Linked DNA regions of Homo sapiens: region 2 is linked to region 1. The links are contacts of gene promoters, found by promoter capture Hi-C in human tissues and cell types (Jung and others, 2019). All regions are on one chromosome and are shown on one strand. Each heading gives the region's core, a stretch centred on a gene start or on the middle of the fragment in contact. The rest is flanking DNA. Distances are from core to core; before and after follow the strand shown.

What was found. The method cuts DNA at HindIII sites, captures the fragments that hold promoters and counts their contacts. A contact is called where the count stands out against the background at its distance.
Region 2: a fragment that was not itself captured here is called in contact with the fragment with the promoter of SCGB1D2 in region 1 in 2 of the 25 tissues and cell types used here (dorsolateral prefrontal cortex and pancreas).

Annotation. Positions count from the first base shown.
Region 1 is chr11:62,240,073-62,243,576 of GRCh38, reverse strand. SCGB1D2 (secretoglobin family 1D member 2) reads right to left here and starts at 1,338. Exons shown (of 3, transcript NM_006551.4): 1 at 1,215-1,338; 2 at 101-288. The coding sequence starts at 1,269. The HindIII fragment of the contact is 7,638 bases long and covers 1-3,504 here.
Region 2 is chr11:62,161,950-62,165,228 of GRCh38, reverse strand. No RefSeq gene overlaps it. Among named protein-coding and RNA genes, the nearest start is that of SCGB1D1, 27 kb to the left of the region's middle. The HindIII fragment of the contact is 4,748 bases long and covers 1-3,279 here.

The DNA.
Region 1 (3,504 bases), core at 89-2,588:
CTGCCCCACCACCTGTGTCCCCAACAGAGCAGCAAGCTGACCTCACTTCATACTGTGCAGCTGACCAGAAGCCTTAACAAATAAAGGAGAAAGAAGTTACCAGGACTTCCGCAATGAGGCTTCGTTTCTGAAGGGACATCTGATCCGTGCATCTCTTCACTCCTAACTTGGCTGCAACAGCTTCCGGAGGGGCATCAAATTTGGCAAGACTTAACTTGAACAGAGGTTCACTAATGAAGAAGAAGTCTAACAGCTCAGAAACAAGAGCTGGGCAGAACTCGGCATTGGCTGCAGCAAAAGAATAAAAATATAGTTGATGTTAGGAAAGTCGATTTTTCTCTTTGGCTCCCTGACGTTAGACCAGACAGGATCCCCTGGGTTATATGTTCACATACATTTGTTGTGCTGATGACAATGCCAGACCCTTCAGGTGTGACTTCCTCAAGCTCTCACAATAAAGGAAAGCACTTCATATCAACAGCCAAACTCTTTTTTTTCCCTTTGTCACCCAGGCTGGAATTCAGTAGCTCAATCATGGCTCACTGCAGCCTCTACCTCCTGGGCTCAAGCGATATCCCCATCTCAGCCCCCTAAGTAGCTGAGACTACTGGTGCATGTCACCACGTCCAGCTGATTTTTCATATTTCTTTTGGTAAAGCTGGAGTTTCGCCACGTTGCCTAGGCCGGACTCAAACTCCTGAGCTCAAGCAATTCACTCTCCTTGACCTTCCAAAGTGCTAGGATTACAGGCATGAGCCGCCATGCTTAGCCCACAGCTAGACTCTTTTGACAGTATTAATCTTTCTTACTCCATTCTCATAGCCTCTCCTGGCAGAAGCGCTAACTACCAGTGATAGGAGGAGGCTCAGGGAGGGTGAGCATTGTGCCCAAGGTCAAAGGGCTGGGAAGTGGCGGATCCCAGATTCACCCCAGACCTCACATTACATCATCTGACACAGATCCCACCCAGGAGTGAAGCTCAGGCAGAAGAATTCCTAATATTTGCCTGCACTGATTTTCAATAAAACTTCGTAGGTGCTGGGGAGTAGAAGAAATAGCTCTGAACTTGATGAGGGGCTTGTTCAACAAGCACAGAAAAAGGTTTGGAATTTTGGTTTTGTGCAGATCCTAACCCCAGCCTGAATAGGTGACCTCGTGCTTGGAAGAGGGTGCTTCCCAGGGGCTGGAGCTAGACTCATGACTGATGTACTCACCCTGGTAGCAGCAGAGGGCCAGCGTGACCAGCAGGAGACACACCGACAGCTTCATGGTGGCTTGTTTTGCTGTGAGCTCAGCTTTCACAAACAATGAGTGATTTGGACTCCACCCCAGGAGCCTGTGGAGCTGCAGAGCCCAGGGCTATTTGTACCTAGGGAGTCTAGCTGGTACTGGTCATGAGGCCTGGCTCCCAGCCCACCTCTCCTTCCCAGGGCTGTTGCCATCCATCTGTGTCACCTCCCCACGCCTCCCTGCACTCTGACTGGGGCAGAGCACAGGAGGGTAGCCCTGCAGGAACTCTGCTCTGTGTTCCAGGTGAATGTTCAGGCACCTCTGGAAATATTCCTGGGATTCTGTTTCCTTCTGAGTTTTGCTGATTATTTTTTTTCTTTGTATCAGTTCAAGGGCACAGGTAAATTCTGACTTTGGAAGGCACAGGAAGCTGGAAGGCTGTGTTCTGGTTATGGGGGAGCAGGGACATAAGGAAACCCTGCTTTGATCCCCCTGCATGTCTGACAACCAGTAGGCTTGTTTCAGTTGCACATTGAGCAAGTCTAAACAAGACCTATTCCCCTCAGCCCCTCCCATCACCACCATGTTCACTGCATAGGTACCTAAAACCTAGTTCAATGCATCTTACCTTTGGAGGATTTCCTGGGGAAAAGCAACTGCTGCACCTGTTCTCTAGCCTGTCTCACTCCCAAACCTGAGTCTTGTTTATGAGTGCAGCTATAAATATGGCCAAGACTCACATTTTCTCTCTACGAGGAGCAAGCTTTCTGTGATGTGTAGCCACCCACATGTTGATGGGTTGACCTGATGATTACATAGCCTAACTTTTTCCAAGTAGCTTTTGGAGTGTCCAGAGCCAATCATGCATCGGACAGGTACTGAGAGTTCTTTGCTCTGGGGCTCCAGGAGGGGAAGAAGATGGAAAAGAAGAGACAGATGATCAGGGTGAGTGGTCACTTCCCCCCAACCTCTAGGCTCAAGTTTTCCACTTCAAATCTAGCTGTGCAGCCTGAGCCAATCCCATTTTTAATAGAAAGGGAAGGAAGCACCCAGACAAAGCAATACACACCCTCCTGCCCTCCTGCTGTGATGCCTTTGTGTGGTGTGAGCAGGAAATCAATCACTAGAAATTTCTCTCTCTTTTTTGTTATTATACTTTAAGTTTTAGGGTACGTGTGCACAACGTGCAGGTTAGCTACATATGTATACATGTGCCATGTTGGTGTGCTGCACCAATTAACTCATCATTTAACATTAGGTATATCTCCTAATGCTATCCCTCCCCCCTCCCCCCACCCCACAACAGTCCCTGGTGTGTGCTGTTCCCCTTCCTGTGTCCATGTGTTCTCATTGTTCAATTCCCACCTATGAGTGAGAACACGCGGTGTTTGTTTTTTTGTCCTTGCGATAGTTTGCTGAGAATGATGGTTTCCAGCTTCATCCATGTCCCTACAAAGGACATGAACTCATCATTTTTTATGGCTGCATAGTATTCCGTGGTGTATATGTGCCACATTTTTTTAATCCAGTCTATCATTGTTGGACATTTGGGTTGGTTCCAAGACTTTGCTATTGTGAATAGTGCTGCAATAAACATACGTGTGCATGCGTCTTTATAGCAGCATGATTTATAATCCTTTGGGTATATACCCAGTAATGGGATCGCTGGGTCAAATGGTATTTCTAGTTCAAGGTCCCTGAGGAATCGCCACACTGACTTCCACAATGGTTGAACTAGTTTACATAATCATGTGATTTTTTCATTGGTTCTGTTTATATGCTGGATTACATTTATTGATTTACGTATGTTGAACCAACCTTGCATCCCAGGGATGAAGCCCAATTGATCATGGTGGATAAGTTTAATGCCCACAAGAGAAAGCAGGAAAAATCTAAAATTGACACCCTAACATCACAATTAAAAGAACTAGAGAAGCAAGAGCAAACATATTCAAAAGCTAGCAGAAGGCATTGAATAACTAAGATCAGAGCAGAACTGAAGGAGATAGAGACACAAAAAACCCTTCAAAAAATCAACGAATCCAGGAGCTGGTTTTTTGAAAAGAGCAACAAAATTGATAGACCACTAGCAAGACTAATAAAGAAAAAAAGAGAGAAGAATCAAATAGATACAATAAAAAATGATAAAGGGGATATCACCACCGATCCCATAGAAATACAAACTACCGTCAGAGAATACTATAAACACCTCTATGCAAATAAACTAGAAAATCTAGAAGAAATGGATAAATTCCTCGACACATACACCCTCCC
Region 2 (3,279 bases), core at 351-2,850, 79 kb after region 1:
CTGGCCGACAAACATGGAGAAACCCCATCTCTACTGAAAACACAAAAATTAGCCAGGCATGGTGGCGGATGCCTGTAAGCCCAGCTACTCGGGAGGCTGAGGCAGGAGAATAGCTTGAACTCAGGAGGCAGAGGTTGCAGTGAGCCGAGATCATGCCACTGCACTCCAGCCTGGGTGACAGAGCGAGACTCCTTCTCAAAAAACAAACAAACAAACTAACAAAACAAAACAAAACAAAACAAAACAAAAAACACCACATAAGATAACTGGGGCAGAAGGCCTCTAGCCCCTAGCCCCTAGCCCCTTTCCCTACCATTCCCGCAGTAGTGGCTGCACCCCTCCAGTCCTTTCTGCTGCACCCCCAGCACCTCTGGGGCACTTTCTGAGTTAAATAATTAGTTATAGGAGTCCTCACTGGGCATAATCCATACTTGTCTTATTACAGTGTCCCAGGGGCAAGTAGGACAGGAGCCCTGCAGAGGGCTCCTGCCTCTGTTATTCTCAAATCACAACTCAAAGACACTAAACACATTCCTCAAGATCCCTTACTCCAATTCTCAAGGACCAATTCCCCACTCAACCAATCCTGCCAGGCCAGGGGCAGAGCTGGCAGGAAGAATAGAGATCCAAAAAAAAAAAAAACCGTCATAGCTTTCATGGGTTATTAGCTCCTGTTCTTTTATAGGAGCTCCTATTAGCTCCTATTCTTTTATAGGTAGAATAGTTCACCTGAAATTAATCTGATACTATCAACTTTCCTATATCATAATAGCAGAGGAATGGGCATATTTAAAGTGCAAATTAATACAGGTAGGGGTATGTGTGTGTGTATCTGTGGGCAAGTAAGATTAAAGCTTCATGGATCAGGCAACCAAACCTGAGTCAAAGTATCCATCTTCATGTCAGCTGTTTCAGGCTTAATAAACTGCAATAAAAGCAAATACCCCCACAAAGGAATGACTACTTAAAAGGCACTTTAAAAGCCCCCCTGGCCGGGTGTGGTGGCTCACACCTGTAATCCCAGCACTTTGGGAGTCCGAGGTGGGTGGATCACCTGAGGTCGCGAGTTCGAGACCAGTCAGGCCAACATGGTGAAACCCCATCTCTACTAAAAATACAAAATTATCCAGGCATGGTGGTATGTGCCTGTAATCCCAGCTACTAGGGAGGCTGAGACAGGAAAATCACTTGAACTCGGGAGGCGGAGGTTGCAGTGAGCTGAGATTGCACCATTGCACTCCAGTCTGGGCAACAAGAGTGAAACTCTGTCTCAGAAAGGAAAAAAACAAAAACAAAAAAGAACTCCCCTTTGCAAGCTGTAGTTTACTTCCTCCTTCCAGCATGCAGGGTAGATCTCTTTGGTTGAGAACATTCAAAATTACTGGACAGGAGTGGGGATGTGGTTGGGGTTGGCCATGTAAGTTACTTTCTACTTTGCTGGCTCAGAGCAGTGAGCACTGTAAGGAGTACAGAGCAGGTGCTTCAGGCATCAGGTAACTCAGCTTAGCTCTGAGTGCTGCTACCCAGGTTTCTATAGATGTCCAAGGAAGCCTCAGAATCAAGCTCCAAGAGGTTCAGATAGGAGAATAACCTGCGATCTGCATTGTTTGCAATCCCTTGGAATACAGGTTACAGCCCACTTTCCTTCTCATGCCTGCTCTTTCTTCTTTCTTAAACCTGGAGGAATGTTTGCACCATGGAAGCCCAGAGGGAAGAAAGGCTGCTATGGGTCTTGCCCCCGCAGAACTCAGCCAGCAGCCACAGTTGCTCAGTAGCAAGTGGTACCCACAGTTCAAGGCCCCAGATCCCACTGCAACACGTGGACTAGGCATGTGCTGTGAAAAGCCCAGATGGAGCCAGAAAAAAGCTGTGGCTTAGTTTACTTAAGGGAGACAGGAAAAGCCTCACATGGCAGGTAGCTAGCAGGTACTTGACAAGAGGAAATGTGCCAGGCATGCAACGGGGTGGGCTACAGTGAAGGGTGGGGTTAGCATCCATAAATGGGTCCTACTGAAGCAAGAAAGCCTGGATAATCCCAGGTTTTCTCATCTTCATCCTAACCAAGTGGTGAGGATCAAGCCCCGTTCTATTCCTGAGAATACGGCAGGATGGGCTATTTGTACCATCCCACCCCGGGGCAGAATGAAAGATGCTGAGTAACAGTAACTTTTAAAGAGCAAAAGTTTCTAATTTTGATGAAGTCCAATTGACTTTTGCTTTTATAGTTCACACTTTTGGTGTCATATGTAAAAAACCTGTGCCAAACACAAAGACACTAGGATTTTCTCCTGTTTTCTTATTTATTTATTTACTTATTATACTTTAAATTCTGAGGTACAGGTGCAGAATGTGCAGTTTTGTTACATAGGCATACATGTGCCATGGTGGTTTGCTGCACCCATCAACTCGTCACCTACATTAGGTATTTCTTTTAATGCTATCCCTCCCCTAGCTTCTCACCTGCCGACAGGCCCCAGTGTGTGATGTTCCCCTCGCTGTGTCCATGTGTTCTCCTTGTTCATCTCCCACTTATGAGTGAGAACGTGCAGTGTTTGGTTTTCTGTTCCTGTGTTAGTTTGCTGAGGATGATGGTTTCCAGCTTCATTCATGTCCCTGCAAAGGACATTAACTCGTCCTTTTTTATGGCTGCAAAGTATTCCATGGTGTATATGTGCAAGATTTTCTTTATCCAATCTATCATTGATGGACATTTAGGTTGGTTCCAAGTCTTTGTTGTTGTGAATAGTGCCGCAATAAACATACATGTGCATGTGTCTTTATGGTAGAATGATTTAAAATCCTTTGGGTATATACCCACTAATGGGATTGCTGGACAGAATGGTATTTCTAGTTCTAGATCCCTGAGGAATCGCCACACTGTCTTCCACAATGGTTGAACTAATTTACACTCCCACTGATAGTAAAAGTGTTCCTATTTCTCCACATCCTCACCAGCACCTGTTATTTCCTGACTTTAATAATCACCATTCTAACTGGTGTGAGATGGTATCTAATTGTGGTTTTGATTTGCATTTCTCTAATGACCAGTGATGATGAGCTTTTTTTCATGTTTGTTGGCTGCATAAATGTCTTCTTTTGAGAAGTGTCTGTTCATATCCTTTGCCCACTTTTTAATGGGGTTGTTTGTTTGTTTCTTGTAAATTTGTTTAAGTTCTTTGTAGATTCTGGATATCAGCCCTTTGGCAGATGGATAAATTGCAAAAATTTTCTCCCATTCTGTAGATTGCCTGTTCACTCTGATGATAGTTTCTTTTGCTG